Linked DNA regions of Homo sapiens: regions 1, 2 and 4 are each linked to region 3. The links are contacts of gene promoters, found by promoter capture Hi-C in blood cells and fetal thymus (Javierre and others, 2016). All regions are on one chromosome and are shown on one strand. Each heading gives the region's core, a stretch centred on a gene start or on the middle of the fragment in contact. The rest is flanking DNA. Distances are from core to core; before and after follow the strand shown. Region 1 overlaps RET (ret proto-oncogene). Region 2 overlaps RET (ret proto-oncogene). Region 3 holds the start of ZNF487 (zinc finger protein 487). Region 4 overlaps CSGALNACT2 (chondroitin sulfate N-acetylgalactosaminyltransferase 2).

Evidence for each region. Contacts are between HindIII fragments. The CHiCAGO score rates a contact against its expected background, and 5 or more counts as called.
Region 1: a contact is called between a fragment that was not itself captured here and the fragment with the promoter of ZNF487 in region 3, in 2 of 17 cell types (monocytes and neutrophils). The highest score is 5.9, in monocytes.
Region 2: a contact is called between a fragment that was not itself captured here and the fragment with the promoter of ZNF487 in region 3, in 1 of 17 cell types (neutrophils). The highest score is 5.3, in neutrophils.
Region 4: a contact is called between a fragment that was not itself captured here and the fragment with the promoter of ZNF487 in region 3, in 5 of 17 cell types (neutrophils, activated CD4 T cells, monocytes and 2 more). The highest score is 10.4, in neutrophils.

Annotation. Positions count from the first base shown.
Region 1 is chr10:43,121,024-43,123,723 of GRCh38, reverse strand. RET (ret proto-oncogene) reads right to left here. Exons shown (of 20, transcript NM_020975.6): 16 at 1,708-1,778; 17 at 1-53. Among named protein-coding and RNA genes, the nearest start is that of CSGALNACT2-DT, 16 kb to the left of the region's middle. RefSeq lists enhancers at 1,669-1,718, 2,469-2,588, 2,699-2,700. The HindIII fragment of the contact is 4,320 bases long and covers 1-2,700 here.
Region 2 is chr10:43,097,033-43,099,732 of GRCh38, reverse strand. The region is part of intron 1 of RET (ret proto-oncogene); the gene reads right to left. Among named protein-coding and RNA genes, the nearest start is that of RET, 21 kb to the right of the region's middle. The HindIII fragment of the contact is 1,340 bases long and covers 689-2,028 here.
Region 3 is chr10:43,435,717-43,438,416 of GRCh38, reverse strand. It overlaps ZNF487 (zinc finger protein 487), which reads right to left and starts at 1,306. Exons shown (of 4, transcript NM_001355444.3): 1 at 1,155-1,306. RefSeq lists a silencer at 1,022-1,681 and an enhancer at 1,782-1,851. The HindIII fragment of the contact is 37,036 bases long and covers 1-2,700 here.
Region 4 is chr10:43,156,026-43,158,725 of GRCh38, reverse strand. CSGALNACT2 (chondroitin sulfate N-acetylgalactosaminyltransferase 2) reads right to left here. Exons shown (of 8, transcript NM_018590.5): 3 at 1-11. Among named protein-coding and RNA genes, the nearest start is that of CSGALNACT2, 19 kb to the right of the region's middle. The HindIII fragment of the contact is 6,189 bases long and covers 1-2,700 here.

The DNA.
Region 1 (2,700 bases), core at 1-2,500, 310 kb after region 3:
AGGGGTTTCCCCCTAGGGTCACGATCTCCCACAGCAGGACACCAAAAGACCATCTGCAGAGAGTGAAAGGACCAGTGAGTGGCTCCACCTGGCCCTCACAGAGCCCTCCGGGGGGCCCAGATATCCACCCCCACCACCAAGCACCTGCTGACCCTGTCGGCTTCAAGCACAGATGCTCACAGATGTCAGCCTGGGTCTGGCTGCTCAGATGGATGTAGCATGAAGGTGGGGAAGGGCTGCCTGCCTGCCTGGCCCCTACTCCATGAAGCTGAAGTCCTTGCCCAAGCCACTCCCATCAGAGCAGCCACACGCACAAGGGACACATGAGGCTTAAGATGAATTCATGATTAATGAATTAATGATACATTAATTAATATCATGAATTAATCTTAATAATTCTTAAGATTCTCACACTTAAAGCGGTGAGAATGCAGGCCACCAGACTCAGAGTGCCTTGTATAGTTCTTTTGCCATTTCTATGTGCTTGGAAAATTTCATAAAATCTTAGAAGGAAAAAAAGCTATAGAAAAACATTTTAACTGTGAAGGAAAACTCGCTTTGCAATGGGAACAAAATCATATCACAAAACAGCATCGCATGAGCCCATTTAGGGCAATAAAAAGCATACATGTGCACACCACGGAGCACACCAGAGGGCAGCCAGAGGTCACTGGGCGGTGTGGTCCAATGACATTCAGTCTCTTCTTTATGCTTTTCTCTGCCTTTTCCAACTAGCCTACAGTCAGCTTATATAATCGGAAAGCTGTTGTCCAATTGCTTATTCACAGCCCACAGTATTTAAGATGCACATGTTGGCCAGGCGTGGTGGCTCTCGCCTGTAATCCCAGCACTTTGGGAGGCTGAGGTGGGTGGATCATTTGAGGTCAGGATTCAAGACCAGTGTGACCAACATGGTGAAACCCTGTCCCTACCAAAAAATACAAAAAAATGAGCCAGGCGAAGTAGCACGTGCCTGTAATCCCAGCTACTCAGGAGGCTGAGGCACAGGAATCGCTTGAACCCAGGAGGTGGAGGTTGCAGTGAGCCAGGATTGCGCCACTGCACTCCAACCTGGGTGACAGAGTGAGACCCTATCCCCTCCCCCCACAAAAAAAGAGAGGCACATCACACCTCTGCTGACTGTAGAACACTTTAGAGGCAAGAATCCTGTGTTTTAAAAGTGATCAGCTCTTGTCATTGGACCTGGAAGAATGAGATTTTGGCTTCCACCTTTGAGCAGTTTGGGGCACACCAATCTATAAACTCACACAAGGCCATCTTCAGGTGGAGTCCCCAAGCTCCACTTGTGGGTGGGGGCAAGTCACTGGGTGCTCTGCCTGAGCCCAAAGCCCTACTCAGGACCACAGGAGGGTAACTGCTGGGCTGGGCCTGAGTCACCAAGGGACCCAGAGGGAGGCATGGGACTAGCAAGGGTGGGGGAGGCTGGGTTACTGGCCACCTGCTCGGCTCTCATGCTCTACCGGAGCTTTCAGAACTGCAGCCCGGCCTGGCCCAGCCATTTGCCTCACGAACACATCATGAAGGCCCCTCAGTGAGGGGGTCATTGCAGAGGGCTAGCACTGCAGACAGGTGCTCAGGGCCAGTGCAATTCCCTGGCCAAGCTGCACAGACGGGCGTCGTGGCCCCACTACATGTATAAGGGTGTTTCTGTAACCTCCACCCCAAGAGAGCAACACCCACACTTACACATCACTTTGCGTGGTGTAGATATGATCAAAAAGGGATTCAATTGCCATCCATTTAACTGGAATCCGACCCTAAAGAGAAGATGGAATAAAGACATTGAAGTTACTCTAACTCTCTAGGAAGGAGGGGTAAAGGAGAAGGCCAGGCCCTATCCCTGAGCTTTCAGTAACCAGAGGAGTGCTGTAGACACTCCTGGGCACAGAACTGGCCACACACATCTTTGAAGGGGCTGGAGCTCCAGCCTGAACCTCCTGTGGATTGCTGAGATGCTGGCGGGAGTCAGCTGCCCACCCACAGGCACACAGGGCCAGCTTGTCACATGCCACAGGCCTGCTGGTAGTGCAGAGCAGTGCTTCCCTATGCATGGGCCTGGAACTCCCCCTGCAAGATCTCCCCTGGGGTTCTGAGGGCCAATGTGTTTGGGAAACCAACATCTAGCATTTCCATGTTGGGCACTTTGCCAGCAGCTACCACACTGAAGGAGCCTTGAGGGAAGGGATTTGTCTGTGTGCCTTGGGGGAGGCTGTTTTTTCTCTCTTATTGTATTGCAGGGTGCTTTTAGCATCTCTGAATGAGTGCCCCCAGCCCCCTACATCCCTCATCAGTGCTGGGGTCTGACCTAACAAATCCTTTCCAGGGTGACTTGAGAAACAGCTTCTCCACAGACAAGCCTGAAGGTGCAAGTCCATTTTTAAAATGTGTGCCTTGGGTTGGAACACAATCTTACTGTCACTTCTTTTACTTAAACACATGAGGGATTTATGTCCTTAGTGCAGTGTGGCTGTCTTGGCAGCAGTGTGTGACAGTGTAGCCTGCACGTCTTGTATAAGAATGCCTTCAGCTTCTCTCCCTGGAGGACCAGTGCATCAACAGGAAGGCTCTGTCCACACCCTCCACAGGGCAGGGGCCAGCCCCTACCACTTCCCCCCACAGCAGTTCTGAGATCTGCTGTCACAAGGGAAACCCCAGAAGAAACGGAACAGCTCACAACCC
Region 2 (2,700 bases), core at 109-2,608, 340 kb after region 3:
TGGCTGCCTGTGGCAGGCGGGGGTGTGGGGGAGGTGGACAGATTGGGAAGGGCCACAGGGCACTTTCTGGGGAATGTGAAGGTCCCATATCCTGAGAAGGGTGCAGATCACGTGGGCATATTCGTTTGTCAGTATTGTGCAGCTAAGGTCCGTGCATCTTATCTATGTAATTTTTATTTATTTATTTATTTATTTATTTATTTATTTATTTATTTATTTTTGAGATGGAGTTTTGCTCTTGTTGCCTAGGCTGGAATGCAATGGTGCAATCTTGGCTCACCACAACTTCCACCTCCCGGGTTCAAGCGATTCTCCTGCCTCAGCCTCCCCAGTAGCTGGGATTACAGGCATGCACCACCATGCCCAGCTAATTTTGTATTTTCTTAGTAGAGATGGGGTTTCTCCATGTTGGTCAGGCTGGTCTCGAACTCTCAACCTCCGGCGATCCGCCCGCCTCTGCCTCCCAAAGTGCTGGGATTACAGGTATGAGCCACCGTGCCCGGCCTATCTATGTAATTTTTACCTAAATAACTGAAAAATGAATCACTGAAGGCGCTGTGGACAGAGGCGTAGCTTCCTTGAAGAAGGCAGGATGCTAGCCTCGGCTGTGGCTGAGTGAGCCCAAGCAGGGGCACGGTGCACTATGCTGCTGACTGTGTGTGGCCAACATTTCCCACAGTGGAAAGCTTTTAAAATAGTTTTTGGAACTCATGTACATTGTCGGTGAAAATGGAAAATAATATACAGTTATCATGAAAAACAAGAAGGTAGTTCCCAAAAACTTAAAAATTGAATTACCATATGATCTACCAATCCCACTTCTGGGTACATACGCAAAAGAATTGAAAGCCAAGTCTCAAATAGATATTTACACACCCATGTTCACAACAGCACTATTCACGATAGACAAAAGGTGGAAGCAACCTCAGTGGCCATCAATGGATGAATGGATGAACAAAACATGGTCTATACATACAATGGAATATTCAGTCTTAGAAAGGAGGGAAATCTGGCCGGGCGCAGTGGCTCACGCCTGTAATCCTAATACTTTCGGAGGCCTAGGTGGGCAGATCACTTAAGGTCGGGAGTTTAAGATCAGCCTAGCCAACATGGTGAAACCCCGTCTCTACTAAAAATACAAAAATTAGCTGGGCATGAAGGCGGGCGCCTATAATCTCAGCTACTTGAGAGGCTAAGCCAGGAGAATGGCTTGAACCCACGAGGCGGAGGTTGTAGTGAGCCGAGATTGTGCCATTGCACTCCAGCCTGGACAACAGAACAAGACCTGTCTCAAAAAAAAAAAAAAAAAAAGGAGGAAAATCCTGACACAGGCTATAACACTGATAACCCTTGAGCACATTATGCTAAGTGAAATAAGCCCATTGCAAAAGGATGAACACTGCACGATTCCACTTATGTGAGATCCCTAGAGTAGTCAAATTCACAGACACAACATAGGATGGTGATTGCTAGGGCTTGGGGGAGACAGGATGGGGAGTTAGTGTTTGATAGGGACAGAGTTTAAGTTTGGGAAGATGAAAAGTTCAGGGACGGAGGTGGTGATGGCTGTACAACAATGTGAATGTACTTAATGTCCCTGAAATGTATACTTAAAAATAGTTACATTGTAAATCATTTTTGTGTATATTTTTCCACAATAAAAAATCGTATGAATTTTTAAAAAGATGGATAAATAGGCAAAAAATGCTTAAAATCCATTAAGAACCTGCAAATAGACTCTAGAATGCCCAAACAATACCAACATCCAAAGGACACATTAGGAATACTGCACTTGTATGTAATCGATCTCTCTTTTTGATCAGTTTGCTCCCACCCAGACGGTTGCTGCTTGAGGTCGCTGAGGGGTCTGGAGGGCGGGGCCTGCAGCAGCAGTTGAGAACGCCCCCAGGGCCGCTGGGCTCCTCCAGGACACACCTGGGGGAAACAATCAAGTGCCAAGGGGAGCCTGGAAGAGAACAGGTGAGACGTCTGGAGTCCCACAGTGGGAAAATAGAACAGGAGAAAGCTTCTCTTGAAGTGCTCACTGTACATCAGGAACACTGCTCCCATGACAGTGCCCTCGGGGTGGGAGGGGGTGCTGCATTTCTGGCGACAGAGGGTGAGAGATTGTAACTCATAGTGGCCTCACAGGGCGAGGAGGGTCCAGATGCCCTGGCCCCGATGAGCCCCCTCCCAATCCCATGTGGCATCCTATGTCTGGGCTATCCATGCAGGCAGTGGGGTCCATGTTCTTACCCCAGAGAGGATGCTAGGGGTTGGCTGAGCTCAGGTGGGGAGAGGCAATGCAGCTCAGCTGGGTCTAGTTTTCTCTGGGACACACACCTCTGGCCCTGGTCTTCCCAATAAGAACCATTTGCCCTTGGGTGGCCGTGGGGTGGCTCTGGTGATGCCCAGGCTGCAGAAGAGTGGGTAGGGCCCTGGCACCCCATCTGTCGCAGGAGCAGATCCAGTCTGGGAATCCCACAGGTGCTCCTCTGGGGCCTCCATGATGTGCAAGCACCTTTAGTGGTCCAGGGACTAGAGGTAGGACAGGCCTGGGCTTCCCAAAGCCCCCACCACAAAGCCCACATGTGCAGGGGAGAACGGGCCTTCCTGCTCCCATCTGGCAGAGCCCACCCCTACAGGATCGTGGGGGGCCCAATCCCAATTGGTCTCCCTGCTGCCAAAAGGGATTTGTGG
Region 3 (2,700 bases), core at 57-2,556:
GTCAATAATTCGAGACCAGCCTGGCCAACAAGGCAAAACCCTGTCTCTACTAAAAATACAAAAATTAGCCGGGTGTGGTGGCACGTGCCTGTAACCCTCGTCACTTGGGAGGCTGAGGCAGGAGAATTGCTTGAAGCCAGGAGGTGGAGGTTTCAGTGAGCCAAAATCACGCCACTGCACTCCAGCCTGGGCGACAGAGGGAGACTCCACCTCAAAATATATATATATATGGAACCTAAGACAAAAGCCTGCACTCACCCCTAATCTGCTAAATTCAAGTTCTCTCCATGATGAGGTTTCAAAAGGAATTAGTGCAAAATGTATTTAAGGATATGACCAGAAAGGAGAAAGAAAAAACAAATGGCTATTACACACACAGCAGAAAAGTAACACTAGGAGGCAAAGGAACTCAATGAAGAAATATTTCGGTGGCAGGCGGTGGTTCAGCCTGTAATCCCCGCACTTTGGAAAGCTAAAGCAGGAGAATCACTTGAGCCCAGGAGTTCAAGACCAGCCTGAGCAACATAGTGATACCCCTGTTTCTATTTATAAATAAATAAATAAATAAATATTTCCAACCAAAGAATACAAACTTAGTAAAGCTAATGAAGGAAGAACACAGTGAAGAGCTGCCGATGTAAGAGAAAAAAAGAAAATTTCCGGAGGAAAAAAGTTCAAAGATTTGCAACTATTTCCTCAGAAGGAACTGGGAAAAGGGAGTTTTGAGTAATAAGGCCTTGTGCAAGTTTCTGACTCTTAAGGATGTGAATGTACTGCCTTAAAAAATAAACTAAAAAGAGCCTCTTTTCTCACCACAACTCAACAATCATGAAGGTATCCTTGCAAGTGTGTGTAGACCTCTCATGCCTCCTAGGTCCAGGGTCACTCGTCCAGGACTCTCCCAATATCCCTGCCCAGAGGAAGCGCTTCCTCAGACTCGGTTCCTTCTGGTTGCCCTTGTCTCGCTTCTCTAGGGTGGGCTGGCCGCTCCCGCACTGGGGTCAAAGATCCTCCGGGTTCTCTCTGCCACGACTCGCCCTGATCCCAAATCCCAGCCCCACGGTCCCCACCCCCAGCGGGCCCAGTCCCCGCTCGATCCTGGGTGTGCGGCCCTCGACCTCAGACCCGGCCCCTGCCCGCCGGCCGCCCCTCACCTCGGCCTCGGAGGCTCCACGCTCCCCCTCTCACAGCCCGCACCTCGGCGGTCTCTCGGAGGAGGGAGGAACCCGAGGTACCTGGTAGTCGTAGCTGAGGAACTTACAGGCTTGTTGACCATCTCACCATGGAAACTGCCGCAGCGCTCCCTGGGCGGGGCCGCCGAGGGGCGGGGCCTGCGCGAATCCCGGGCGCCCGCCAGTCCAGCGCTCCCTGCGCTTCCGGAAGCCTTGCTGCTCCCGCGTGCCTAGCGGGGGCTCGGCCCTATGCCACGGGCATCCCACCCTGCTACCAGCTGCCCTCTTGTCCGCTGGCCGGACTCTTACCCCAGCCTTCTTCAGGAAGACACGGCGCAGTCCGGCTTCCCCACGAAAGCGAAGGTCGCTGGGACCGCGGCTGGGCGTCCGGGGGCGGGGCCGCGACGCCATTGTGACGCGCTCGGAGCAGGGCTGGGCCGAGGACCCCGGGCGCTGGAGGGCAGGCCCTAGCCACTGCTCCTGAGGCCCTGGAGGCAGCTGACGCTTGAGGCCGCTGGGCGCCGCAACGTGAGCCCAAAGGACGCCCCGCTTCAAGACTGGCGCAAGAGGAAAAAATGAAGGTCGTTTTCTGCGGAGGATGTTAGGAGAACGAGAACTGCGGGCCAGAGAACTGACCTAGCTTAAGGAGCGCAGGCAGCCTCTGCCGCCGGCTCTTGGGGAGACACGGAGAGGATGGGGTCCCCGCTCCGCATCAGGTCCTCTGACGCACCCCGGCTTTCCAGGAGGTAGGACTGGCCACAGGCCTCCTTCCCAGGGACAAAGTGCAAAGCAGAGGCTGTCAGCAGCGTGACCTTCGCTGCAGGAGAAATACGCGTCCAGTTCGTTTTCGTCAGAGTTCTGCTACATCAGGCCTGCCGTATTTGCTGTACACAAATCAGCCAACTTCCCAGGCCTGGGTGCGGAGGTATTTGTTAAGCACATGCACACAGTTGGAATTAGCAGCCTCAGGGATCAAAAGTTGTCCTTTTTTTTTTTTTTTTTTTTGGAGACGAAGTTTCGCTCTTGTTGCCCAGGCTGGAGTGCAGTGGCGCGATCTTGGCTCACTGCAACCTCCGCCTCCCGAGTTCAAGTGATTCTCCTACCTCAGGCTCCCGAGTAGCTGGGATTACAGTCGTCCGCCACCACGCCCGGTTAATTTTTTTTGTTTTTAGTAGAGATGGGGTTTCACCATTTTGGCCAGGCTGGTGTCGAACTCTTTTTTTTTTTTTTTTTTTTTTTTTTTGAGACGGAGTCTCGCTCTGTCACCCAGGGTGGAGTGCAGTGGCGCGATCTCAGCTCACTGCAAGCTCCGCCTCCCAGGGTCACGCCATTGTCTTGCCTCAGCCTCCCGAGTAGCTGGGACTACAGGCGCCCGCCACCACGCCCGGCTAATTTTTTGTATTTTTAGTAGAGACGGGGTTTCACCGTGTTAGCCAGGTTGGTCTTGATCTCCTGACCTCGTGATCCGCCCGTCTCGGCCTCCCAAAGTGCTGGGATTACAGGCATGAGCCACCGTGCCCGGCCTGGT
Region 4 (2,700 bases), core at 155-2,654, 280 kb after region 3:
GCGATAATAACCTAAAGGAAAGAGTTAGGAACAAAGACGTCTCCATGTCAAAGTTTACAAATTCAATGGGAAGACAGATTTTACTCACTTAAACATAAAGGGTATTAAACTAGACCTGCAGGATTTTTACCTATTTGTGAAAATACTTATCCCCACTGCACAGTAACAATTACTCGCTTAAAAGAAAAGGTTAAAAAAAAAGTTCACTGTTCTGTTATTTTATTCAATCTATAAAATATACTACAAATGACAATTGTTCCTTTTTACATACGACTTTTTAAAAATACTAGAGCCTATCAATATGGTAATCATGATAAATAAAGAAATTACTTCTAGCAATATTAAAATCTAGACCCAAGAGCCAAAATTTCTATTGGTTTAGGTCAACTAAAAGAAATCGAGTGCCTTCGTGTCAGTTATGTGATACAAAGAGTGCCACATGGTCTCAATTTTGAGGACAGGGCCAGTCTAGTGAAGGAGACAGAAAAATAGACAAATAATAACAATATAGTGCTATGTGATATATATATATATCTGTATATATATATGTGTGTATACATACATACATATAAAATCACTGACTAGAGTGAAGTCAAAGAAAAATTGGTACAGATTTAAACACAGTGATTTGAGATGCCTTTGAGAGAAAAGCATGCGCATCTACGAGGCAATCTGATTTTTTTTTTTTTTTTTTTTTTTAGACGGAGTCTCACTCTGTCACCAGGCTGGAGTGCAGTGGTGCAATCTTGGCTCACTGCAACCTCCATCTCCCGGGTTCAAGCAATTCTTCTGCCTCAGCCTCCCAAGTAGCTGGGACTACAGGCGTGTGTCACCACGCCCAGCTAATTTTTGTATTTTTAGTAGAGACGGGGTTTCACTATGTTGGCCAGGATGGTCTTGATCTCTTGACCTCATAATCTGCCCACCTCGGCCTCCCAAAGTGCTGGGATTACAGGAGTGAGCCACTGCGCCCAGTGGCAATCTGATTTTTAAGTATGGCGCTCAGGAGAGAGAAGAAGGTTAGACCTACAGATGTGTGAGTCACTCAGTAAATATCTGGGTATAAAATGGTGAATAAAATAGACTTGGTCCCAACCCTCCTGAGGCTTACACTTTAGTAGGAAGCACAAACCAGGAAATGGGCAATGCCACATACTGTGACAAGCAGTATGAATGTACAGGTGACAAGAGCACACAGAAGTACTGCTGTCTTAGACCTGAGGTTGCAGATGACTTCTCAGAAGAAGTGATATCTGAGCTAAAGTTTAGAAGAGGGATAGGAATTAGTTGTCATTACTAATTATTAGTAATTATTCTCCCTGCAGTGGGCAGACAGTGGCACAGTAGAGGAAAAGTGAGGAACAGAATATGTTCCATTTAGAGAAAAATCCTGAAGTATCAGAATCCAAGGAGAGTTATAAGACAAAAGCAGGAGCTGCAGAATATAAAACTGGCACAGCTCCCTTTCTTTTTAGGTAGAGCTGATGTGAGGACATTTTACACATGTTACTTAGTTATCTTATTTCCTCCGCAGCTTCCAATTCTGCCATAAGCTACAAACATACAGTGAGAAGACAAAAAGCTGAGCTTGCAGAAAAATCAGAAGAGTTTTGAGAAAAATAATCCATCAAAAATGGCAGGAAGTGACAGCAGAAAAAAGAGGAGGCCACAAGGAAAGGCAGCTGCAATGCCACTGCAAAGCATAATGCCCTCCCTGATGGCCTCCAAGGGCCTCAGTGTATTATAATAATGCTACAGTGCAGCAAGTGATGGCCATGATGATTTGGAGTCAAAAAGTCTACATGTGCTATACGAGGGGTCCCTAACCCCCAGGCCACAGACCGCTACTGGTCCGTGGCCTGTTTGTTGGGAACTAGGCGGCACAGCAAGAGGTGAGTGATGGGAGCCTGGCAAGCATTACCGCCTGAGCTCCGCCTCCTGTCGGATCAGTGGCTGCACTGGATTCTCAAAGTAGAGCAAACTCTGTTGTGAACTGCACATGCAAGGAATCTACACTGCACGCTCTTTATGAGAATCTAACTAATGCCAGATGATCTGAGGTGGAACAGTTTCATCCCAAAACCATCCTCACCATCCCATGGAAAAATTGTCACCCATGAAACCAGTCCCTGGTGCCAAAAAGGCTGGGGACCACTGTGATAACACAGTTTATAGAATCAAGCAAAGAGAACTTTCAAGAAACATTTATTTTTAAAATGGTTTAAGTCAGCAATTAAATGTCTAGCAGTGAGTGTAAAGGAGATGGGTAGGGATCTAGAATTATTACTGTTAATATCAATCAATATCTTAAATTTTATAGCAGTGTTCTTCAACCTCTGAGTCACATCCCATCTTGATACATAAAAATTCCATACCCTTTCTGAAATATGTATTAGGAAAACAGGTATTTCCTTACTTTTCCAAATGCCAAATGTGCTTTTTAAACTATGTATAACCCCTTGTTCAGACATGAGCTTCTCCTTCCTCCAATACGAAAAATAGCTAAGAGTCTACTAATTTTTTCTTTCCTTTATCAAATGGTTTTCAAGTTTTGAGTTTTAGTTTACACATTTTTTAAAAACATAAAAAAGAACACCAAGATCAGGTAAGTGAGGAATATAAATCATACACATGCAACAAGAGCTGTTTTATTCTATTTCCCTAGTCCTTATTCTCCATTTTTATTATGATCTCATACCT